Regions from separate parts of the Homo sapiens genome. Here region 2 is linked to region 1. The links are contacts of gene promoters, found by promoter capture Hi-C in blood cells and fetal thymus (Javierre and others, 2016). All regions are on one chromosome and are shown on one strand. Each heading gives the region's core, a stretch centred on a gene start or on the middle of the fragment in contact. The rest is flanking DNA. Distances are from core to core; before and after follow the strand shown. Region 1 holds the start of RHO (rhodopsin). Region 2 has its middle 18 kb from the start of SNORA7B.

Region 1 (6,004 bases), core at 2,909-5,408:
ACAGCCTCCCAAGTGGCTCCCAAGGCAGGAGGATCACTTGAGCCTGGGAGTTAGAGAACAGCTTGGACAATATAGGGAGAGCCCAACTCTACAAAAATGAAAATAAATTAGCCAGGCATGGTGGCACACACCAATGGTCCCAGCTACTCAGGGGTTGAGGTGGTGGACCGCTTGAGCCCAGGAGGTTGAGGCTGCAGTGAGCCATGATCATGCCGCTGCACTCCAACCTGAGTCACAGAGTGATACCCTGTCTCAAAAAACAATAGGCCAGGTGTGGTGGCTCACGCCTGTAACCCCAGCACTTTGGGAGGCCGAGGCGGATGGATCACTTGAGATCAGGAGTTAGAGACCAGCCTGGCTAACATGGCAAAATCCTGTCTGTACTAAAAATATAAAAATTAGCCAGGCATGGCAGTACATGCCTGTAGTCCTGGTTACTTGGGAGGCTAAGGCAGGAGAATCGCTTGAACCCAGGAAGAGGAGGTTGCAGTGAGCCAAGATCACACCACTGCACTCCAGCTTGGGTGACAGAGTGAGACCCTGTCTCAAAACAGCTAAACCTGGTGGGGGTGCCTGGTGTGTAGGATGGTCAGGGGTGGTCTCTCCAAGGACATGAGTGTGAGCGGAGACCTGAAGGAGACTCAGGAAGAGATTAATACTGTCAGCAACAAATATATTGATCACTTACAAGCACTCCCAATAATCCTATTAGGTAGGCACTATTATCATTCCCATTTTACAGAGTGGAGAACCGAAGCACACTCTCGGGAGGGCGGGGTAGCTGGCTGCACCCAGGCTGTGTAGCCTCAGTCCAGATGTAAGGGTGGGTGGAAAAGAGCCTTGCCCAATGAGGGAGAACAGTGAAACCAAGGCCATAGGGTCTAAAGATTCACGAACCAGGCTCTCATGGAGAAAGCAGGTGAGGTTTACTGTATAGATGGGTGTGCCCCTACCCCACACTGAGGCTTCCTCGTCTGAGCAAACTGAGGCCCAGAGAGGGGAAGGAAGCAGGACTACCATGGTGACTCAAAGACCAGCTAGAATCCAGCCTCCTCTCCTCGAGGCTTCCACTGCCCCACGCCAGGCCTGTGTGACTCAGTCTAGGGCCTTTCCATTACCCCAGCTAAACCTTTCTTTAGTCATTTATACCATGGTGTGAATGGCTGGCTGGTCTTTCCTGAGAGCTATCTTTGATGAGGGGAGGGAGGCATAGCCAGGTTTGGGAAGCTGATACCCCAGGAAGCCCAGTTGACTGTGTGGGTTATAGCCCAGGCTGTCACTGATTTGTAACGGGACCTGAGCAACTCTGCAGAGCTAGGCCTCAGTCTTTTCATCTGCAAAATGGATATAGCAGAGATGGTCAGAGTAGGTGACTTCGAATGACCCTTCCAGCTCACTATGAGTCTGTTTTCCTGAACAAAGAGCATTTTTTGTTTAAAAAAAAATTTCTTGGGCCGGACACGGTGGTTCACTCCTATAATCCTGGCACTTTGGGAGGCCGAGGAGGGTGGATCGCTTGAGCCAGGAGTTCAGGACCAGCCTGGGCAACATAGCGAGACTCCACCCCTACAAAAAATACAAAAACTAGTGGTGTGCACTTGTGGTCCCAGCTACTCAGGAGGCTGAGGTGAGAGGATCGCTTGAGCCCAGGAGGCAGAGGCTACAGTGAGCTATGATTGTGGCACTGCACTCCAGCCTGGGCGACAGAGACCTTGTCTCAAAACTTTTTTTTTCTTCGTCAAGCTTTACAGAATAAAGAGCACTGTCACCTCAGTGATGGCTGTTAGTTCCCCATCACCAGGGCTCCATGAGGTTGCAATTGTGAAACTCACAAAGGAGGAACCTGAGACAGAGAGGGGAAGTACTGAGATCATCTAGGTCCATTCCCCCACTCACTCGTTCATTCAACAAATATTCAGGAGCACCTTCTAGGTGCCAGGCCCTGGAGACACATCAGTGAACAAAACAGACATCATCCCACCTCTTTCCACTACAGGCCAAGCACCATGCTGGTCTCTGGGAACCCTGTTGTGAGCAAGACAGACCCAGGCTTACCCTTGTGGACTCATGTTACAGGCAGGGAGACGGGCACAAAACACAAATAAAAAGCTTCCATGCTGTCAGAAGCACTATGCAAAAAGCAAGATGCTGAGGTACTGCTAAGCTGTGTGGGATGGGGGCTCAGCCCGGCCAGGGAGGGGCCAGTTGTGGGTCAGTCTTGACCCAAGGCATCCAGGACACCCTCCTTCTGGCCATGAGGGTCCACGTCAGAATCAAACCCTCACCTTAACCTCATTAGCGTTGGGCATAATCACCAGGCCAAGCGCCTTAAACTACGAGAGGCCCCATCCCACCCGCCCTGCCTTAGCCCTGCCACGTGTGCCAAACGCTGTTAGACCCAACACCACCCAGGCCAGGTAGGGGGCTGGAGCCCAGGTGGGCTGCAGGGAAGGGGGCACTCTTCTGAGCAGACAGATCTGGGAATCCTGGGTGGGAAGAGAGACAGTGAGAGAGAGATTAAGGGATATTTCCCAGGCATCAGGGCTTTGCACTCTCAGGGGTCCTTCCGCCTGGATGTCCTTCCCCTGAAGCTTCCTCCTGTTGTTCCGTTCTCAGCTCAAGCTCCAGCTTCTCAGAGAAGCCTCCTGTGTTGGGAGTGGCTGCGACTGAACTGTCCCTACTGTTATTCGCTCTTCTATTTGTTTGTGGTCCCTGTGCCCCCTCACCCCACAAAAACACTGGCTTCTTGTGAGCAGGAGCTTGCTCTTTCGTGTACCCTGTGTGTCCCCAAGGACCAAGCACCTTGTCTGGGCCACAGTAGGTGCTCAATACACATGTTGGCTGGACAGTGGTCACTGAGCGGCCGCACGTCGGGCACTCTCAGCACTTGCACAGGCCGCCCCAGACACCCCACTTCATTCCTGGGAGGTGTCATCATGTTGCTTGGACGACGGGGAGAGGGGGACCTGCCAGTGTTGGCCTCCATTTTCCCCCAGTCATCTGCCCCCAAGGCTCTGACTACTTTCTTTCTCACGGTACATCCTGCTATTCTGGAATCGGCCCTCGTGGGGCCACCTGGTACATGGCATTTGAGGCCCTCGTGGCTGATTAGGCCTCCCCCAACAGTGCCCTGTCTGCTGCCTCCAGGGCCAGCCTCCCCTTCAGACTGGAGTCCCCTGAAGGGTTCTGCCCCTCCCCTGCTCTGGTAGCCCCCTCCATCCTCCCTCCCTCCACTCCATCTTTGGGGGCATTTGAGTCACCTTTCTACACCAGTGATCTGCCCAAGCCACTGCTCACTTTCCTCTGGATAAAGCCAGGTTCCCCGGCCTAGCGTTCAAGACCCATTACAACTGCCCCCAGCCCAGATCTTCCCCACCTAGCCACCTGGCAAACTGCTCCTTCTCTCAAAGGCCCAAACATGGCCTCCCAGACTGCAACCCCCAGGCAGTCAGGCCCTGTCTCCACAACCTCACAGCCACCCTGGACGGAATCTGCTTCTTCCCACATTTGAGTCCTCCTCAGCCCCTGAGCTCCTCTGGGCAGGGCTGTTTCTTTCCATCTTTGTATTCCCAGGGGCCTGCAAATAAATGTTTAATGAACGAACAAGAGAGTGAATTCCAATTCCATGCAACAAGGATTGGGCTCCTGGGCCCTAGGCTATGTGTCTGGCACCAGAAACGGAAGCTGCAGGTTGCAGCCCCTGCCCTCATGGAGCTCCTCCTGTCAGAGGAGTGTGGGGACTGGATGACTCCAGAGGTAACTTGTGGGGGAACGAACAGGTAAGGGGCTGTGTGACGAGATGAGAGACTGGGAGAATAAACCAGAAAGTCTCTAGCTGTCCAGAGGACATAGCACAGAGGCCCATGGTCCCTATTTCAAACCCAGGCCACCAGACTGAGCTGGGACCTTGGGACAGACAAGTCATGCAGAAGTTAGGGGACCTTCTCCTCCCTTTTCCTGGATCCTGAGTACCTCTCCTCCCTGACCTCAGGCTTCCTCCTAGTGTCACCTTGGCCCCTCTTAGAAGCCAATTAGGCCCTCAGTTTCTGCAGCGGGGATTAATATGATTATGAACACCCCCAATCTCCCAGATGCTGATTCAGCCAGGAGCTTAGGAGGGGGAGGTCACTTTATAAGGGTCTGGGGGGGTCAGAACCCAGAGTCATCCAGCTGGAGCCCTGAGTGGCTGAGCTCAGGCCTTCGCAGCATTCTTGGGTGGGAGCAGCCACGGGTCAGCCACAAGGGCCACAGCCATGAATGGCACAGAAGGCCCTAACTTCTACGTGCCCTTCTCCAATGCGACGGGTGTGGTACGCAGCCCCTTCGAGTACCCACAGTACTACCTGGCTGAGCCATGGCAGTTCTCCATGCTGGCCGCCTACATGTTTCTGCTGATCGTGCTGGGCTTCCCCATCAACTTCCTCACGCTCTACGTCACCGTCCAGCACAAGAAGCTGCGCACGCCTCTCAACTACATCCTGCTCAACCTAGCCGTGGCTGACCTCTTCATGGTCCTAGGTGGCTTCACCAGCACCCTCTACACCTCTCTGCATGGATACTTCGTCTTCGGGCCCACAGGATGCAATTTGGAGGGCTTCTTTGCCACCCTGGGCGGTATGAGCCGGGTGTGGGTGGGGTGTGCAGGAGCCCGGGAGCATGGAGGGGTCTGGGAGAGTCCCGGGCTTGGCGGTGGTGGCTGAGAGGCCTTCTCCCTTCTCCTGTCCTGTCAATGTTATCCAAAGCCCTCATATATTCAGTCAACAAACACCATTCATGGTGATAGCCGGGCTGCTGTTTGTGCAGGGCTGGCACTGAACACTGCCTTGATCTTATTTGGAGCAATATGCGCTTGTCTAATTTCACAGCAAGAAAACTGAGCTGAGGCTCAAAGAAGTCAAGCGCCCTGCTGGGGCGTCACACAGGGACGGGTGCAGAGTTGAGTTGGAAGCCCGCATCTATCTCGGGCCATGTTTGCAGCACCAAGCCTCTGTTTCCCTTGGAGCAGCTGTGCTGAGTCAGACCCAGGCTGGGCACTGAGGGAGAGCTGGGCAAGCCAGACCCCTCCTCTCTGGGGGCCCAAGCTCAGGGTGGGAAGTGGATTTTCCATTCTCCAGTCATTGGGTCTTCCCTGTGCTGGGCAATGGGCTCGGTCCCCTCTGGCATCCTCTGCCTCCCCTCTCAGCCCCTGTCCTCAGGTGCCCCTCCAGCCTCCCTGCCGCGTTCCAAGTCTCCTGGTGTTGAGAACCGCAAGCAGCCGCTCTGAAGCAGTTCCTTTTTGCTTTAGAATAATGTCTTGCATTTAACAGGAAAACAGATGGGGTGCTGCAGGGATAACAGATCCCACTTAACAGAGAGGAAAACTGAGGCAGGGAGAGGGGAAGAGACTCATTTAGGGATGTGGCCAGGCAGCAACAAGAGCCTAGGTCTCCTGGCTGTGATCCAGGAATATCTCTGCTGAGATGCAGGAGGAGACGCTAGAAGCAGCCATTGCAAAGCTGGGTGACGGGGAGAGCTTACCGCCAGCCACAAGCGTCTCTCTGCCAGCCTTGCCCTGTCTCCCCCATGTCCAGGCTGCTGCCTCGGTCCCATTCTCAGGGAATCTCTGGCCATTGTTGGGTGTTTGTTGCATTCAATAATCACAGATCACTCAGTTCTGGCCAGAAGGTGGGTGTGCCACTTACGGGTGGTTGTTCTCTGCAGGGTCAGTCCCAGTTTACAAATATTGTCCCTTTCACTGTTAGGAATGTCCCAGTTTGGTTGATTAACTATATGGCCACTCTCCCTATGGAACTTCATGGGGTGGTGAGCAGGACAGATGTCTGAATTCCATCATTTCCTTCTTCTTCCTCTGGGCAAAACATTGCACATTGCTTCATGGCTCCTAGGAGAGGCCCCCACATGTCCGGGTTATTTCATTTCCCGAGAAGGGAGAGGGAGGAAGGACTGCCAATTCTGGGTTTCCACCACCTCTGCATTCCTTCCCAACAAGGAACTCTGCCCCACA
Region 2 (6,004 bases), core at 1,399-3,898, 150 kb before region 1:
ACTAAAAATACAAAAATTAGCTGGCGTGGTGGTGCATGCCTGTAATCCCAGCTACTTGGGAGGCTGAGGCACAAGAATCGCTTGAACCTGTGAGGTGGATGTTGCAGTGAGCTGAGATCACGCCACTGCACTCCAGCCTCGGCAACAGAGTGAGACTCCATCTAAAAAAAAAAAAAAAAAAAAGTTAATGGATTTACCCTAAGTCACAAGCCTAGGATGTAGCTGAGCTAGGTCACCTGTTCCCCAGCCCATGCCTGCTGCCCGGCTAAAGGAGGGGAAGGTGAGAAGGATGGCACAGTGGAAAAGATAAGCTCTTGGGAGCAGCCACGTCTTGCTGTCAGAGGGTAAATGGCTATAAACCAAAAAGTATTTGACACAAGTCTCCATCACCTTAGGTTTCTTTTGCTAAGGTCAAGGGCCATGGCCTGACAAAGCCTAAGGAGGTCCTGAGAACATGTGCCCAAGGTGGCTGGGTCACAGCTTGGTTTTTGTTTGTTTGTTTCTTTTTGTTTTTGTTTTTTGAGATGGAGTCTCACTCTGTCGCCCAGGCTGGAGTGCAGTGGCACAATCTCGGCTCACTGCAAGTTCCACCTGCTGGGTTCACGCCATTCTCCTGCCTCAGCCTCCCAAGTAGCTGGGACTACAGGCGGAGTCTCGCTCTGTTGCCCAGGCTGGAGTGCAGTGGTGCGATCTTAGCTCACTGCAAGCTCCGCCTCCAGGGTTCATGCCATTCTCCTGCCTCAGCCTCCCAAGTAGCTGGGACTACAGGCGGAGTCTCGCTCTGTTGCCCAGGCTGGAGTGCAGTGGTGCGATCTTAGCTCACTGCAAGCTCCGCCTCCAGGGTTCATGCCATTCTCCTGCCTCAGCCTCCTGAGTAGCTGGGACTACAGGCGCCTGCCACCACGCCTGGCTAATTTTTTGTATTTTTAGTAGAGACGGGGTTTCACCGTGTTAGCCAGGATGGTCTCAATCTCCTGAACTGATGATCCACCTGCCTCGGCCTCCCAAAGTGCAGGGATTACAGGCATGAGCCACCACTCCCAGCCTAATGTATATGTTTATCATTCAACATTTGTTGAGTAGTAAAAATATGAATCAAATAATGATAATCCTAATGATAACATTATTATTATTATTTTTATTTTTGAGATGGAGTCTCACTGTGTCGCCCAGGCTGGACTGCAGTGGTGTGATTTCAGCTCACTGCAAGCTCCACCTCCTGGGTTCATGCCATTCTCCTGCCTCAGCCTCCTGAGTAGCTGGGACTACAGGTGCCCACCACCATGCTCAGCTAATTTTTTATATTTTTAGTAGAGATGGGGTTTCACCATGTTAGCCAGGATAGTGTCAATCTCCTGACCTCATGATCCACCCACCTCGGCCTCCCAAAGTGCTGGGACTACAGGTGTCAGCCACAGTGCCCAGCCAAGCCCAGGTTCTTTTCATGTAGATGAAGCCTTCAGGTAGCAAACTTCAGAGAGAATAGATGGCAAATGTCTCTTGTCTGACCTTAAAAAGTGTCAGCCTCTCCAGAAAAGACCTAGTAAGAGAAGGAGATTCTCTACAGAATGCAAATTTTCCCACACAAGAGAAAGCTTTGCAGGCCCATTTCAAAATATGTCAACAAAATATATTTTGGGGTAAAATACTTTGATTTCCTTAAGGGCCTACTGTTTCATGATGCTGTCATGAAAAAAAACTAGTTCCAACCATCATGGGCATAAGGAGACCCACAATGGGTAGCTCCTCTCTGTAGGCAGGTGGTCCTGTGGAGTGTTCAGCTCTCAGCAGAGAGGAGGCCCTGGGAGGGTGGCTCCTCTCTGCAGGCAGTTCATCTCATTGTCTCTGCAGCTCTCAGTAGATTGGAGCCCCTGGAGAGGGTAGCTCCACTCTCTACTGGTCGTCCTGACATCTGCCGAACTCCTAGCAGAGAGGAAGCCCTGGAGTGGGTTGCTCCTCTCTGAAGCTGGTAGTCCCAACATCTCTGCAGGCCTGTGAAGCTCTCAGCAGAAAGGGTAGCTCTTCTCTGCAGCTGGTCATCCCATAGTCTGCTTAGCTCTGGCTGAACCTGGGGTTTTTATGGGCCTCAGAGGGGAAAAAGTGTATGCTGATTGGTACTTGGGTGGGCCTGGAAAAGGCACCACAAGTTCCCAGTCCAGTCCATGAGACTGGCAGCCTTGGTTCCCAGCCTTCAGACCCTCCCTGGCCTGAAGGTGGGGCCTCACTGGGGACCGGCCCCCTTCCATCCAGGAATCTGTCTGCCTCCTGCTGCCTTCATGACACCTGAGCTTGGCCCCAACATTCCTCCAAGATTGGAGTGGGCAACAACAGCAGGGAGAAGCCAGGCAATGGGAGCAGGCACTGCTGAGCCTGCAAGGGGAAGGGATGCTTCCTGGCCCTCAAGAGTGCAGGGGTGCCTGAGTCTGCAGCCATGGTTTAGGCAGCTACAGCTGTGCCTGGGAGGGCAGGGATCCTGCTTGCTCCTGGCCTCCCAAGAGCACAGGGAGGCTCAGACCTGCAGCCACAAGTTGGGCAGCTACAGCCCTGCCCCGGAGGGCAGGGCTCCTGCCTGCTCTGTGGAGTGGGAGGCCCAGGTCTGCAACCCAATGGTTTGGGCAGCTGCAGTGGCACCTGGGGAGCTCCCACCCCAACTTGGAAGGGCTTCATGGAGTGTGCAACCCCAGCCACGTCTCCCTGCTGCAGCTGGGAGCTACAGTTGAACAGTTGGCTACATTTCATTGTCCAAAACACAGTGATCTGGAGCAGCCACTGCCATCAATGGTATATCAGAATCATGTTGAAATACGGTGTTCTATTGCTGTTACTGGAAGGAGGGCCTTGGGTGTAAGTTGTCTAGGTTCTTGGTGTTTTGAACAAAAAACTGGACAAAATGCACTAAGTAACAAAGGAATGAAACACAGGATCGAAGTACCAAAATCAGGGATTTATAAAAGAGAGAAGGTACGCCACAGGGTGGGACTGGGCCCGAGCAGCTCAAGGGCCCAGTTACAAAGTTTTCTGGGTTTCAAGCACTCCTTTTGAGGTTCCTATCAGTTACCCCTTATATAGTTGAAGGATTTGGTCTGTGGCTAAGTAAACACTGAGGTGAATGGCACCCTATGCAGATGAAGGGATGGTCCCTGCTTGGCCTGTGGCCACTCCAAGCCACTCTCCCTTTTTGTCTAAGCCATGGTGGAAGGGGGAGGGTTGTAGAAAGAGTAACCTTTGACCCTTTGCTACTAAGGCATGGGGAGCTGGGTTTTTCCTTTCGGTTTAGCTTCAGGAAGTTGGCATTAACTGGCCTTAGGGCCCCTGCCTCCAGACCCAGGTGTTTCCCTTTTGATCCAGCTTTGGGAAGTCAGCACAAATTGGCCTCAGATTCCCTGCTTCCCCCCAGACCTTGGTGTTTTTCCTTGATTCAGCATGAATTGGCCTTAAGTTCCTTGCCTCCAGACTGTACTATCCTGCCTCATTGCTACAGAGTCTGTTTTGTCAGTCTTGAGACCCCAGTTTTCTTGTTAATACTGGTCTATTGTGTCTAAACTCTAAAGGGAGGAGGGTAAAATGAGGCAAGTCTGACCCCTTATGCCCATGATGGTTGGAACTAGTTTTTTAGGGGTTTTTTGGAATTCCCCTTCTCCAAGGGGAGGGGTTCATTCAATGGAGGCACAGAGGGCTTAGAGTTTTACTTTTGGTTTACACAAGCTTAAAGAGAAAAAACTTGCCTTCAATACTAAAACTAAAAGATGGGACTGGAAATTTCAAAGATAAAGACCCCAAACAGAGAAAACAGCACTTCCACATCCACATTTGGGAACCATTAGCACAGAGGTCCCAGGTGACTGCTCTTTCCTGCCCAGGAAGCCAGGAGAGATGCAGGCCCCCGAAGCACACTGGCTGGCCTAAAACAAGGGCAAGGCCTTTCCTTGTTGAAGATGTCCCGGCCAAACTCAGACTCGTTCTTGTTCCCGCATGACGCAGGAGAATAGGGTCTGGAGGGAGGGAACCTAAGGCCGATTCATGCTGACTTCCTAGAACTGAATCAAAAGGAAAACCTCACCTCTTCACACCCAAGTAACAAAAGGATCAGAGGCTACTCCCTTTGCACTACATAGCAGATAAAAAATAAAAAAGTACCTCTGATTGGTCCCCTCCTGCAACCAATCACAATGGTTGTGGACCATTCCTTCATTTACGTAGGGTATAACAAAGTAACCAATGGGAAACCTCTGGAAGGTACTCAAACCCTAGAAGATTTTGCAACTGGTGCTCTTGAGCCACTTCCTCAAGCCTGCTGTCACTCTGTGGAGTGTACTTTGGTTTCAATAAATCTGTGCTTTTGTTGCTTCATTCCTTCACTGCTTTGTGTGTTTTGTTCAATTCTTTGTTGAAAACACCAAGAACCTGATGGCTTGTGGTCAAGACCCTCCACCAGTAACATGTACACACATATGCACATATACACATGACCACATACGTGGCAGGAAGGGGCACAGAACCTGGAGTCAAGTCACCTCTGGCTATTGCCAGCTATTTGCTGGGACAGGTCAGTTGTCCTCTCTGAGTCTCGGTCTCCTGGGCTGTAGCCAGGGAGAAATAATATCTACTGTACAGGACTATGGGGACAGCCAAAAGCCCTTTATAAACCTAAGAAAGAGAAGTCGTTAGGAACTATTCATGGGCACTCACAGCAAGGCAACCCCATCTTGTAGGATGGCATCTGTCCCCAGGGCAGGGAGCAGGAGACCTGTTTCCAGGGGTTTCCAGGGTAACTTGGAGCAAATCACTTACCTTTCTTGGACTCAGTCCCTGGAAGAAGAGGCCATCCCAGACCCCTTCCTCCCAGGAACTCATTCATTCTGTCAGCAAACATAGACTGGGGGCCTGCCAAAGGTGGCGGGTACAACCCATCACTGCCCATGGGCTATGCACCGCCTTGCTGTAGGAACAGGCCTATAACTGCATCACAACCCGAAATCTGGACAAAGGGCAGAGGAAGCTGAGACTCCTTCCCCTGGGGTGGGGGCTTGAGGGGCTCAGGAGGACTCTCCAGAAGAGGTGACATTTCAACAGGGCCTTGAAAGCCAAATAGGTATTTTTCAGAGGGAGAGTGGGGAGGGGCAAAGGCATTCCAGACGAGGGTAACATCCTATGGTGAGGCAGGCCTGCAGGTGGGAAGGAGGGGAGGATGGGCAGAGTTTGTGCTGTGGAGCACAGTAGCCCAGTCATGAGAGAGGTGCAGGACGGAGCACACAGGGTGGGCTGGGCAGGCTGGGCAGGGTGCTGATTGGCGGCTGCAGGGCTGCTCCCCAGGCATGGGTAATCGTCCCACGCATCTGGAGGCAGGCTCTGTATGCATCTGGTTCTTTCCATGGCCCTGAAAACAGTCTTTTTTTCCCTTGATGAAATCCTGCAGTCTGCTCCCATGTACCAGTACCTGGATAGGAAACTGTTCAAGGAAGCCTACCAGATTGCTTGCTTGGGTGTCACAGACACTGATTGGCGTGCACTGGCCATGGAAGCGCTAGGTTTAGATTTTGAAACAGCAAAGAAGGTAAGCATCTAGCCAGCAGGAGCTGGAGTTTGGTCCTTGTGGGGTCCCTTAAGAAGGCAGATGGGGACGCAGGTGGCACGGAGAGGCCATAGACTGCAGCAGTCTCTGGAGTTAGGCTGACCTGGGCTTGTATCTTAGCCACTTCCTCACTGTGGGCCTGGGTAGGTGACACCCTTTCTAAGATTGCTTCTCTATAGACGTAGGGTGATGACAGGCCCCATCCTCACAAAGCTGTGAGGATCAAATGGGAGGATGCCTGTAAAGCCTGACCCAGGAGCAGCATGTCAGATTCTGGCTGTCACTCTTATTAGCTGTTCTCTATGGGAAGCACCTGACTAGTAGCCTGGCACATCACAGGCACTCCGTAAATGGCGGCTTTTATTATCGGTGTAGTCACTGGCCATGATGCTGCACACAATGCTGCTTTTCTTAGCATCTGCCAACTAAGGT

The links. The method cuts DNA at HindIII sites, captures the fragments that hold promoters and counts their contacts. A CHiCAGO score of 5 or more calls a contact.
Region 2: a fragment that was not itself captured here is called in contact with the fragment with the promoter of RHO in region 1 in 2 of 17 cell types (endothelial precursors and M1 macrophages); the score reaches 6.7 in endothelial precursors.

What each region holds. Positions count from the first base shown.
Region 1 is chr3:129,524,481-129,530,484 of GRCh38, forward strand. RHO (rhodopsin) reads left to right here and starts at 4,159. Exons shown (of 5, transcript NM_000539.3): 1 at 4,159-4,614. The coding sequence starts at 4,254. RefSeq lists a silencer at 1,712-1,912 and enhancers at 4,110-4,835, 4,836-5,561. The HindIII fragment of the contact is 8,320 bases long and covers 2,590-6,004 here.
Region 2 is chr3:129,375,885-129,381,888 of GRCh38, forward strand. No RefSeq gene overlaps it. Among named protein-coding and RNA genes, the nearest start is that of SNORA7B, 18 kb to the right of the region's middle. The HindIII fragment of the contact is 2,110 bases long and covers 1,594-3,703 here.